2 separate regions of the Homo sapiens genome follow, and region 2 is linked to region 1. Evidence: promoter capture Hi-C in 16 types of primary human blood cells and fetal thymus (Javierre and others, 2016). All regions are on one chromosome and are shown on one strand. Each heading gives the region's core, a stretch centred on a gene start or on the middle of the fragment in contact. The rest is flanking DNA. Distances are from core to core; before and after follow the strand shown. Region 1 holds the start of CHD1 (chromodomain helicase DNA binding protein 1). Region 2 holds the start of SRP19 (signal recognition particle 19).

Region 1 (4,887 bases), core at 1,143-3,642:
ATATCACAATTAAGGACCCACAAAATGCTGTCTTAGATTCCGGAAAAGTAATATTCTTTCCAAAGAATATGAAATTTTAAAAATGAGAAATTAAATAGTAACAAAAACCTCCTGGTTAATGTTAATTATGTGGAATTTTTCGTTAGTCATGTGTTGAGATTATCAACTGTTTGGCTATTGTTTTAGTACCACTAAGTAGAGATAAAGCTAGTTTATTCAAATAAAGTGACACTGCAAATTTAACTATGTTGATAACAAATCATCAAAAAGGTATCTTTGGATTACCTACACGCTTTTTAAAAAATGAACTGGCAAGATTGTTGCAATTTTCCACCTACTGTGTACTTCTGCAAAGCAATAAAGTATGATTTTACTCGAAATCTAAATCTCCAATGTTCAATATTTTATTACAAATTGGGCAAGATCTTTTTTCGAATAGCATGTTTGATGGCACAATACGACAGAATAGCATATTCAATGGCACAATTAGTAGTAAAAAAACAAAAAACCTGCCTGACGTGCTTCCGGAAAACGTAAAATAGACTGTATATACAGTAATTCTTTTCATAAGACAATGACAAAATGTCAGAGTTGTAATTGAGGACTTTATTAACTGAACTATACTTCTGATTACAACATTCTGTGTATGTTAATAGTTTCTCTGGAGAAATTACGGGCACAGGAAGTTCCTCTCATTAAGGATATTAACATAAAGCTTAATATGAAAAATTAGCACTCAGTTCAGAAATGACGACTTCAGAAATGACTTCAGAAATGACGATTTGTATGATCTTTTCATTCCTCACAACCCAGTATTAAAACTATCTAATATTGCAAAGGATGGTAGTGTTCCACTTCGTTTTGCTATTCAATTATTGCTGATAGATACATGTTTTCAAAAAGGCCATTGGCATCTGTTTGCTTTCTCCTACTTCTCCAAGTGAATACACCCTTCAATATGTAGTAAATACATATGTGGAGTTATGTTTTGAGATTTTTTTGAAGGATTTGAACCAAACTGTTTAAACAGCTGGTAGCCTAAAACTGGAATATTTCCCACAAGGGAAAAATAATTATTTGGGGAATGTATGTTACCACAAACTCATCTGACTTGGAAAGTGCGCCTTTACACCAAATCAAATAACTGAACAATGGGATTAGAAACTTTTAATTATTATTAACCTCGGCCACCGGGCGCCGTGGCTCACGCCTGTAATTCCAGCACTTTGGAAGGCAGTGGCAGGTGGATCGCTCGAGCTCAGGAGTTCAACACCAACCTAGCAACATGACAAAACCCCGCCTCTACAAACATAAATAAAAAACAAAAATCATTAACCTTGAGTGAGTCAAGTTCATCTGCAGACTGAAAAAAATAAAGTGTAACAGAATTTTGATTTAAAAAACGCTTTCAAAAAAGCATTTCAAAATGCTCTAAGTATGTTTCAAAAATACACTTAAAAATATGTTTCCAACACACTGAAGGGATTTAACTAAGATCCACAATTACAGTTACGATACAAACTGTAAGCTAAAAGGCAGCAACTTAAGCTGAGACAGTTACTAACATCCCTCGAGCAGCGTTTTTTGTTGCGATTCGGCGCCGCACCCGTCACCCCGCCCTCCGGGGAGGAACCTAGAAAGGAAGGGTGGTACATTTCTAAACCAGGCCACCCACACATGAATCAAGCGGCATCACAGGCTGTCAACAACCGGGTCTCTATTTTCTCTCCTCCTCCGGCGCCCCGCCCGTGCGGGACATCAGCTCCCAGGATGCGTCAATCGCAGATCGCCCAAGCGTAAGAGGTGGCGAGAGGCCACCACGGTTGCCCAACAGTTGCGTTCCCAGGCTGCCTGGTGTGACGCAGCAGCCCCCGCCCGGACCCTGAGGCCTGGCGCTCCGACTGAGCCGAGGCCTGTGCTACCCGACACTCCTTGCGACCCGGCCCCTTAGGCTTATTCAGCGCGGCCCTTCCCGGCTTCCCGAGTCCCATCGCAGTCTCTCCCCACCCCCGTTCCTCCCCGGTTCCTTGTCAGTGTCCGCCGCGATGTCCTTGCGCAACCATCCCAAGTGACATTAGCGCCCATACCCGCACGGAGCGAGCCTGAAGCTCCCACTTCCCGGAATTCAACGCCGGGCCGCTAAGGGCGGGCACCCAAGCGAGGATCAGCGGACTAAGGCCGCGACCAGAGTCCAGCGGTCTCCGCGCAGTCAGAGTCCGACAGCCTCTGCGCATCCGCCGTGCGCACTCCCATTCGTGCGCGTGCGCGCACTCGCCCCCCCCGCCCCGCCCCAGCACCAATCGCTTTTTTCCTACGCCCACGACCCTTCAACGTAGTCCCTCCCGCCTCCCGCGCGCGAGCAGAAAGGCTTCGGCGTGCGCGCGCCCGCCCGCCTCGCGCTCTGTCGGGAAGGGGAGTGAGCAGAGGCGCTTACGTCGCGCGGGAGGCGGAGGCGACGGCGACCTCGGTGGCGGCGGCGGCTACGACGGAGACGGTTGCGCTCGCTTGCTTTCTCGGCGTCATGGCGGCTGCCGGGGGCAGATAAGCGGAGGGAGCGGGAGCGCGCGCGCGACGGCGGCGGCGGCGGCGGCGACGACTGGTTACTTATAGCTCTTGCTGCCCTCGCCCTTGGTGCTTCAATAATGAATTGTTAGCTCCACTCCGCAGGGGATCGCGCGTTGGTGCTGCGGACCGGGGCTTCCCCTTCCCCTCCGCGTCTGTCCCCTTCCCCCTCCCCCGCACGGACTCTTGCTTACCCCGAGACGCCGGAGCCCTAGGACTGGGCGGCGGAGATCCCGGGCCTGGGCGCGGGGGAGGCCGTCCACCCGAGTCGGCTCCCTCCGCCCCGCCAAGCCCGCCGGTAAGAAAGGGGGCGGCGGGCGGGTCAGGATGTGGCGGAGAGGACAGGAACCGGCCGGGCGGAGGGCGGGCGCGGCGCGGTGCCCAGGCGGCGGCCCAGCGGCCGGGTGAAGGCCGGGTGGCTCTGTGAGTGCCGGTGGCGGTGTACGGGCCTGGCGCGCAGGGGGCGTGTGAGCGGCGAGTACAGGCCGGGGCCGCAGAACGCATCCTTGCGCCGGCCCGGCGGCCCTGCCCCGGCCTCTTCGGCTTGGTGCCGACCGGGCCGCGAGAGGAGACCCGCGAATGGCTAGCACTTAGCCGGTGCGTGGGTCCTGCCGCGACCCGGGCTCCCAGCACGTGGGGAGCGGCGGGAGGGGGAGGGGGCGGCGGCTCGGGCGAGCCTGGGAGGGCGCGGGGCGGGTCTGCGGGAAGTTTGAGGCGGGAAGAGGGACTCCTGGACCGGGATGGAGGCCCTGGGAGAGGGGGGCAGGTCCGCGAGGGAGGCTGATTGGAGCGCGCTGGATGGATGAGTGAGGATGGTTTCCAAACCTCTTTCGAGTGCCGCTTTAAAAACTTAGCAGGAGCAAAGCAACTGCTAAAAGACAGAGGATTGAAGAGGTTTAATAACTTAGGGTAGTCATTGTGGAGACGCTTGAGAGGACACAGCGCTGTGTGCGCTTGGAGCTTCAGAACTCAGGGTTGTGAAAAGGGTCTCAGAGGACTTATTCGGATAAGGGAGATGGAGGGGAAAGGAAGTTAAAATGTACAGAGAAAGCCATTTTGAGGGACGAAAGGAAGGTGAAAAGGAAAGAACGAAAAGGGGAGTGAACTTTTTAAAGGAAGAAACGGGAAAGGCAGTTTGTTAACATACTTAGATTTTTTAAGACTTAATTGTTCAGTAAGGCACTTTGACTAGGGTTGAGATTAATATTTAACATTAGGAATAAATGTTGAGTAGAACGGTTACTTTTTAGATAACCTGTTCTTGCAGAGTCTACTGGACAGTAGTCTAGAGAATTAACATCCTGATCCAGATGCAGACTTTGCTATCATTGAGTTGGTAACAATCTGTTTCCCTCCCTCTCTTGTGGAATGGAAATAATCGTAGGAGTGAATTCTCTTTGCTGAGGTCGGAGGACAGCTCTGCTCTCAGTTGGCTGTCTCGGTACTTTCTGGCTGGGGAAGGATCTGACGTCTCCTTCCCCCGCTTCTTCCTCTCCCTCCCCTGCCAGAGATCTCCTTTGTTTATTCGTGGATGGCTTGTAGGTGATTCTTCAGTGTTGTACTGAAATCTTTAAAGGTGGAAATGGTGTGTCTTGGTTCATTATTCTTGCCCCAAATTTTTTACGTAAAAAATCAGATATAGTGTATATTCTATTACCTTTTCAATTTTTTTCACAAAATAAAAACCAAGTGCAAACTGGTTAAGTATTATTTAAATGTTATCATCCCACTATCCGTTTACCTGTTAAATAACACATTTATTTTGAGCTATGCATTTTTGTTGAGAGTATATGGTATCTTTTATTTGCCTGTTCCTCCCATGGGAGCGTTTTCAGAACTTTCTCACTCAAGTGTATGAAGTTCTTGGTGATAGGAGTGAGGGCTTGATTAAAGGTAACCTCCTCCCACCCCCCCCCCCACTTCATTTATTCGACCAAGTTATCTAATAAGACTCCGTTATCTACTCTTGGGATGTATGCATATGTTACATCGTATCACCTTGCTTTAGGAGTCTATAAAAACATTGTTAGTTGCAGTTAGTCTCTAAAAATCCTTTCACTCCACAAATATTTTAATTTTTTCTGTCCGAAGTATATTAGCAGTAGCATACTAAATTCTAGTTAGCAGTCAGGAGTGTAGTTATTACAAGTCTAGATATTTTAAGTATTTAATAAAAGGCCCCCACTTCTTCCTTAACAGCTGTAGTCTAATTGGCCTACGTAGATTTATACGTTTTAGACAGGGCTTAATTTACCTTTTTTCTGCAGGAAATTTTGTTAATTTATTAATATATTTTCTTTAGGTGAATCAAAGGAGAGTCCCAGA
Region 2 (4,887 bases), core at 980-3,479, about 14 Mb before region 1:
AGGATGACACCCCCCATTCCCTCGAGGATCAAGGTGCCAGCCATCTTGCTTACCTTACTTATGGGGATTCGCCTTCCCTCTGCGATGGTCTTCTTATTATTTAAATAAGCAGGATAGATACAAATAAACCTGCCATAGACAATAGCATAAGTGGTATCACTAGAGCAGTAAGAGGCAGGAGAAAAGGGTCGGGTGGCAGGGAACCAAAGGCCAATTCATGCTGCCTAGATATCAGATGGGTACTCCCTTTTCAACCCCTCCTTTTTCTGCGTGGCAGTTGAAAAATCAAAGTACCTCGGAGTGGTCCCCTCGAGCAACTAATCAGACTGGCCGCGGGCCTACTCCTCTTTCTGATTGATCCCCCTCCCTCAACCAATCAGACTGGCACAGGTCAATGGGAAACGTCTAGAGGGTATTTAAACCCTAGAAAATTCTGTAACCAACAGCTCTTGGGTAGCTTGCTGGAGCCGGCTCCCACCCTGTGGAGTGTACTTTTGTTTAAAATAAATCTGCTTTCGCTGCCTTGCTTTGTGTGTTTTGTTCAATTCCTTATTCAAAACGCCAAGAACCTGGACAACTACACTCAACAGATAACAAGTATTTTCAAAAATACATTCTTTCGGTCCGTGGTAGTCGTCATCATTGCTGGTACACCTATGCTATTATTTGCTTAATGTTATTTCTTTAAATTACCTCACTTTAACTTATTTAAAAATAAACTTTATCCACTACCTTGGATGGAAAAAAACCACAGGAATAGAAACAAAACGACTTGGGTAACTGTTACATTAGACAGAGCAGCCCGTCAAAAGTTCCTGAGAATGGGCCCGCCCTCTTATATAAAGTGTCCGAGGTATTAAAAACCTTAAAATTTCACAAATGAGCCTTTCTGAACGCAACAATACTTAAAAAGAACACATTTCTCACACTGTGATTATATTACTTGATATCATGTCCACGTAGCACCCAAAATCCTTGTCTCGCGTACAGATAAACACTAGGCTACCTATGGTCGGAATTTCAGGAGCCCTGAGAAGAGCCTGGTGGCTGCTGCAGGATTCAGAAAAACGAGCTGCCAGGGAGAGGCGCGGGGCCCGTACAGAGCGAGTTGGATCAGCTAGGCCATTCTGGAGGCCGCGGAGCGGAGAAGCGCGGTGTAGCACCTGCAGCACCACAGCAAGCCCCTTCCTTTCGGAGGACCCACCGCCTCAGAACCCACCTGTCCTGGTCGGCCGGGGACCGCGCGGCAGCGCAAGCCATCTTCACAAGAGTCTCAACAACCCAGGAGCCGCAGGGAGAAACCCGGCAGAAACCCGGGAGGAACCCGGCTCTGAGTTTCCGAGACAGCCCGCTTTTCCGCCGGAAGTCCTGCCCAAGAAATGGTTCCGCGTCCGCGATTTCTCATCGCCTGTTTGTTCCGGCACCTGTCGCTCGGCGCCAGGATCTCTAGTCTCTGACGTGGCATGAAGACTTCCCTTCTCGCGAGAGAATCATGAAAGCTTCTCATTCCTTTCCCAAGCCGGGAAGACCATGTGGGGCGCATGCACCGCCACTAAAAAGGGTTTAACTTCGACCCTCCCTCGTTTCCAGTTTCTCAGCGAGTATGGGTGGTACTAGCTACTCTCTGTTAAGGGGCGAAGACTGTGCCACGAGGGGAATCTGTGTGGTTCAGGATGCAAATATATGTTAGACAGGGAAGGAAATACTCCTTACGTTTAATTTTTCTCCGTTCCTGGGCTCTAGAGCTTGCTTTCAGTTTGGCAAAATGGATTTTTGTAGTGGTAGAACTAGCAAAGTTATAGACGTTGTGTTTCAGTGTGCTCTGCGTTAGAAACTTAGCTATTCACCTTTTAGGCCGGGTGCGGTGGCTCACGCCTGTATCCCAGCACTTTGGGAGACTGAGGCAGGTGGATCATGAGGTCAGGAGTTGGAGAGCAGCCTGGCCAACATGCTGAAACCCCGTCTGTACTAAAAATACAAAAATTAGCCGAGTGTGGTGGCACACGCCTGTAATCCCAGCTACTCGGAGGCTGAGACAGGAGAATCACTTGAACCCAGGAGGTGGAGGTTGCAGTGAGCTGAGATCACACCACTGCACTCCAGCCTGCGTAACAGAGCAAGACTCCGTCTAGGAAAAACGAAACAAAACTATTCACCTTTTAAAACTTCTGAAGGATACCATGTGCCATCACTACAGGCATACTTCATTATTGCACTTCACTTGCTGCTGCGAGTAGATACTGCCTTTTTACAAATGGAAGGTTTTTGGCAAATCCGCCTGAAAGAAGTTGCTTGGTGCCATTTTTCCAGCAGCGTATACTTTGTGTCACATTTGGTAATTTTTGCAATATTTCAAACCTTTTCATTATTTCTGTTATGGTGATCGGTGATCAGTGATGTTTGCTGTTACTATTGTAATAGTTTTAAGGCCGGGTGCGGTGGCTCACGCCTGTAATCCCAGCACTTTGGGAGGCCGAGGCAGGTGGATCACGAGGTCAGGAGATAGACACCATCTTGGCCAACATGGTGAAACCCCATCTCTACTAAAATATAAAAAATAAGCCAGGCATGGTGGCACAGGCCTTTAGTCCCAGCTACTCGGGAGGCAGGGGAATCTCTTGAACCCAGGAGGTGGAGGTTGCAGTGAGCCAAGATCACACCACTGCACTCCAGCCTGGCGACAGTGCAAGACTCCGTCTCAAATAATAATAATGTTTTGGGGCACCATGAACCATGCCCAGATAAGATGGGGAACTTAATGGATAAATGTTGTGTATGTTTTAACTGTTCGACCAACTGGCCATTTCCCATCTCTCTCCCTCTTCTGGAGTCCCTATTCCCTGAAACACAACAATGTTGAAATTAGGCCAGTTAGTAACCCTACAATGGCCTCTAAGTATTCAAGTGAAAGGAAGAGTCACACGTCTCACATGTCAAAAGATGGAAATGATTAAGCTTAGTGAGGAAGGCATATGTAAGCCAAGATAGGCTGAAAGCTAGGCCTCTTGGCACCTAACAGCCAAGTTGTAAATACAAAGACAAAATTCTTGAAGGAATTAAAAGGAAATTACTTCAATAAACACACAAATGATCAGAAAGCAAAACAACCTTATTGCTGATATGGAGAAAGTTTTAGGGGTTTGGATAGAAGCTCAAACCAGTCACAACATTCCTTTAACCCAAAGCCTAATCCGAGCAAGGCCCTAACTCCCTTCAATTCTGTGAAGGCTGAGAAAGGTGAGGAAGCTTCAGAAGTGGGAAGCTAGTAGAGGGTGGTTCAGGAGGTTTAAGAAAGAATCCATCTCCATAACATATAACATAAAAGTGCAAGGTGAAGCAGCAAGTGCTGATAGAGAAGCTGCAGCAAGTTATCCAGAAAATGTAGCTAATATCATTGACGATGATCAATGATTAGCTAGTATCATTTAGTGGCTACACTAAACAACAGATTTTTCAATGTAGACAAAACAGTCTTCTATTGGAAAAAGATACCATCTAGGATGTAGCACCCAAAATCCTTGTCCCTTTGAGAGAAGTCAATGTCTGGCTTCAGAGCTGCCCCATTTAGTGGCTACACTAAACAACAGGTTTTTCAATGTAGACAAAACAGCCTTCTATTGGAAAAAGATGCCATCTAGGATGTAGCACCCAAAATCCTTGTCTCTTTGAGAGAAGAAGTCAATGCCTGGCTTCAAAGCTGCCAAGGACAGGCTGATTATCTTGTTAGGGAACAATGCAGTTGGTGATTTTAAGTTAAAGCCAATGGACATTTACCATGCAGAAAATCCTAGAGACCCTAGAATGATGCTAAATCAACTCTGCCTGTGTTCTCTAAATGGAACAACAAAGCCTGGATGACAGTACATCTGTTTACAGCATGGTTTACTGAACTATTTTTTTGAGACAGTCTCGCTCTGTCACCCAGGCTGGCATGCAGTGGCCCTATCACATCTCACTGCAGCCTTGACCTCCCACACTCAAGCAATCCTCCTACACAAGCCTCCTGAGTAGCTGGGACTATGGGCTCATGCCACCATGCCTGGCTGATTTTTATTTTTATTTTTAGTGGAGACAAGGTCTTGCTATGTTGCCCGGGCTGGTCTTGAACTCATGGGGTCAAGCAATCCTCTTGCCTCAGCCTCCCAAAGTACTGGGATTACAGGCGTGAGCCACTGCACCCAGCCTTTACTGAATATTTTTAAGCCCACTGTTGAAAACAACTACTCAGAGAAAAAAAAAAGAGATTCCTTTCAAAATATTACTGCTCATTGACAATGCACCTAGACCTCTAGACATCTAAGTTTCTGATGGAGATCTAGAAGGAGATTAATGTTTTCATGCCTGATAACACATCATCCATTCTGCAGTTTACAGATCAAATAGTAATTTTTATTTTCATCTCTTATTAAGAAATACATTTTGTAAAACTATAGCTGCCAAATAGTGATTCCTCTGATGGATCTGGGCAAGATAAATTGAAAACCTTCTAAAAAAGATTCACTATTCTAGATGGCATTAAGAGCATTTGTGATTCATTGGAGGTTAAAATATGCTGATGCATGAACAGGAATTTGGAAGAAGTTGATTTCAACACTCTGGGATCATTTTGAGGACTTTAAGACATTAGTGGAGGCAATAACTGCAGATGTGGTGGAAATAGCAAGAAAACTAGAATTAGAAGTAGAAACTGAAGATGGGATTGAATTGTTACAATTATGATAAAACTTGAATGATGAGGAGTTGCTTCTTATGAATGGGCAAAGAAAGTGGTTTCTTGAGATGAAAACCACTGGTGAATATGCTGTGATCATTGTTGAAATGACATCAAAGGGTTTAGAATAGCATAAACTTAGTTGATACAGCAGTGGCAGGGTGTGAGAGGACTGA

What was found. Contacts are between HindIII fragments. The CHiCAGO score rates a contact against its expected background, and 5 or more counts as called.
Region 2: a contact is called between a fragment that was not itself captured here and the fragment with the promoter of CHD1 in region 1, in 1 of 17 cell types (total CD8 T cells). The highest score is 13.2, in total CD8 T cells.

The regions. Positions count from the first base shown.
Region 1 is chr5:98,926,512-98,931,398 of GRCh38, reverse strand. CHD1 (chromodomain helicase DNA binding protein 1) reads left to right here and starts at 2,392. Exons shown (of 36, transcript NM_001270.4): 1 at 2,392-2,860; 2 at 4,865-4,887. CHD1-DT (CHD1 divergent transcript) reads right to left here and starts at 2,837. Exons shown (of 4, transcript NR_151718.1): 1 at 2,757-2,837. LOC100289230 (a long non-coding RNA gene) reads right to left here and starts at 2,265. Exons shown (of 1, transcript NR_036530.1): 1 at 390-2,265. RefSeq lists enhancers at 1,659-1,988, 1,477-2,375 and silencers at 2,149-2,358, 2,619-3,248. The HindIII fragment of the contact is 7,543 bases long and covers 718-4,887 here.
Region 2 is chr5:112,857,750-112,862,636 of GRCh38, reverse strand. It overlaps SRP19 (signal recognition particle 19), which reads right to left and starts at 1,350. Exons shown (of 5, transcript NM_003135.3): 1 at 1,220-1,350; 2 at 54-129. The coding sequence starts at 1,260. RefSeq lists enhancers at 1,053-1,352, 1,453-1,532, 1,291-1,585. The HindIII fragment of the contact is 1,456 bases long and covers 1,502-2,957 here.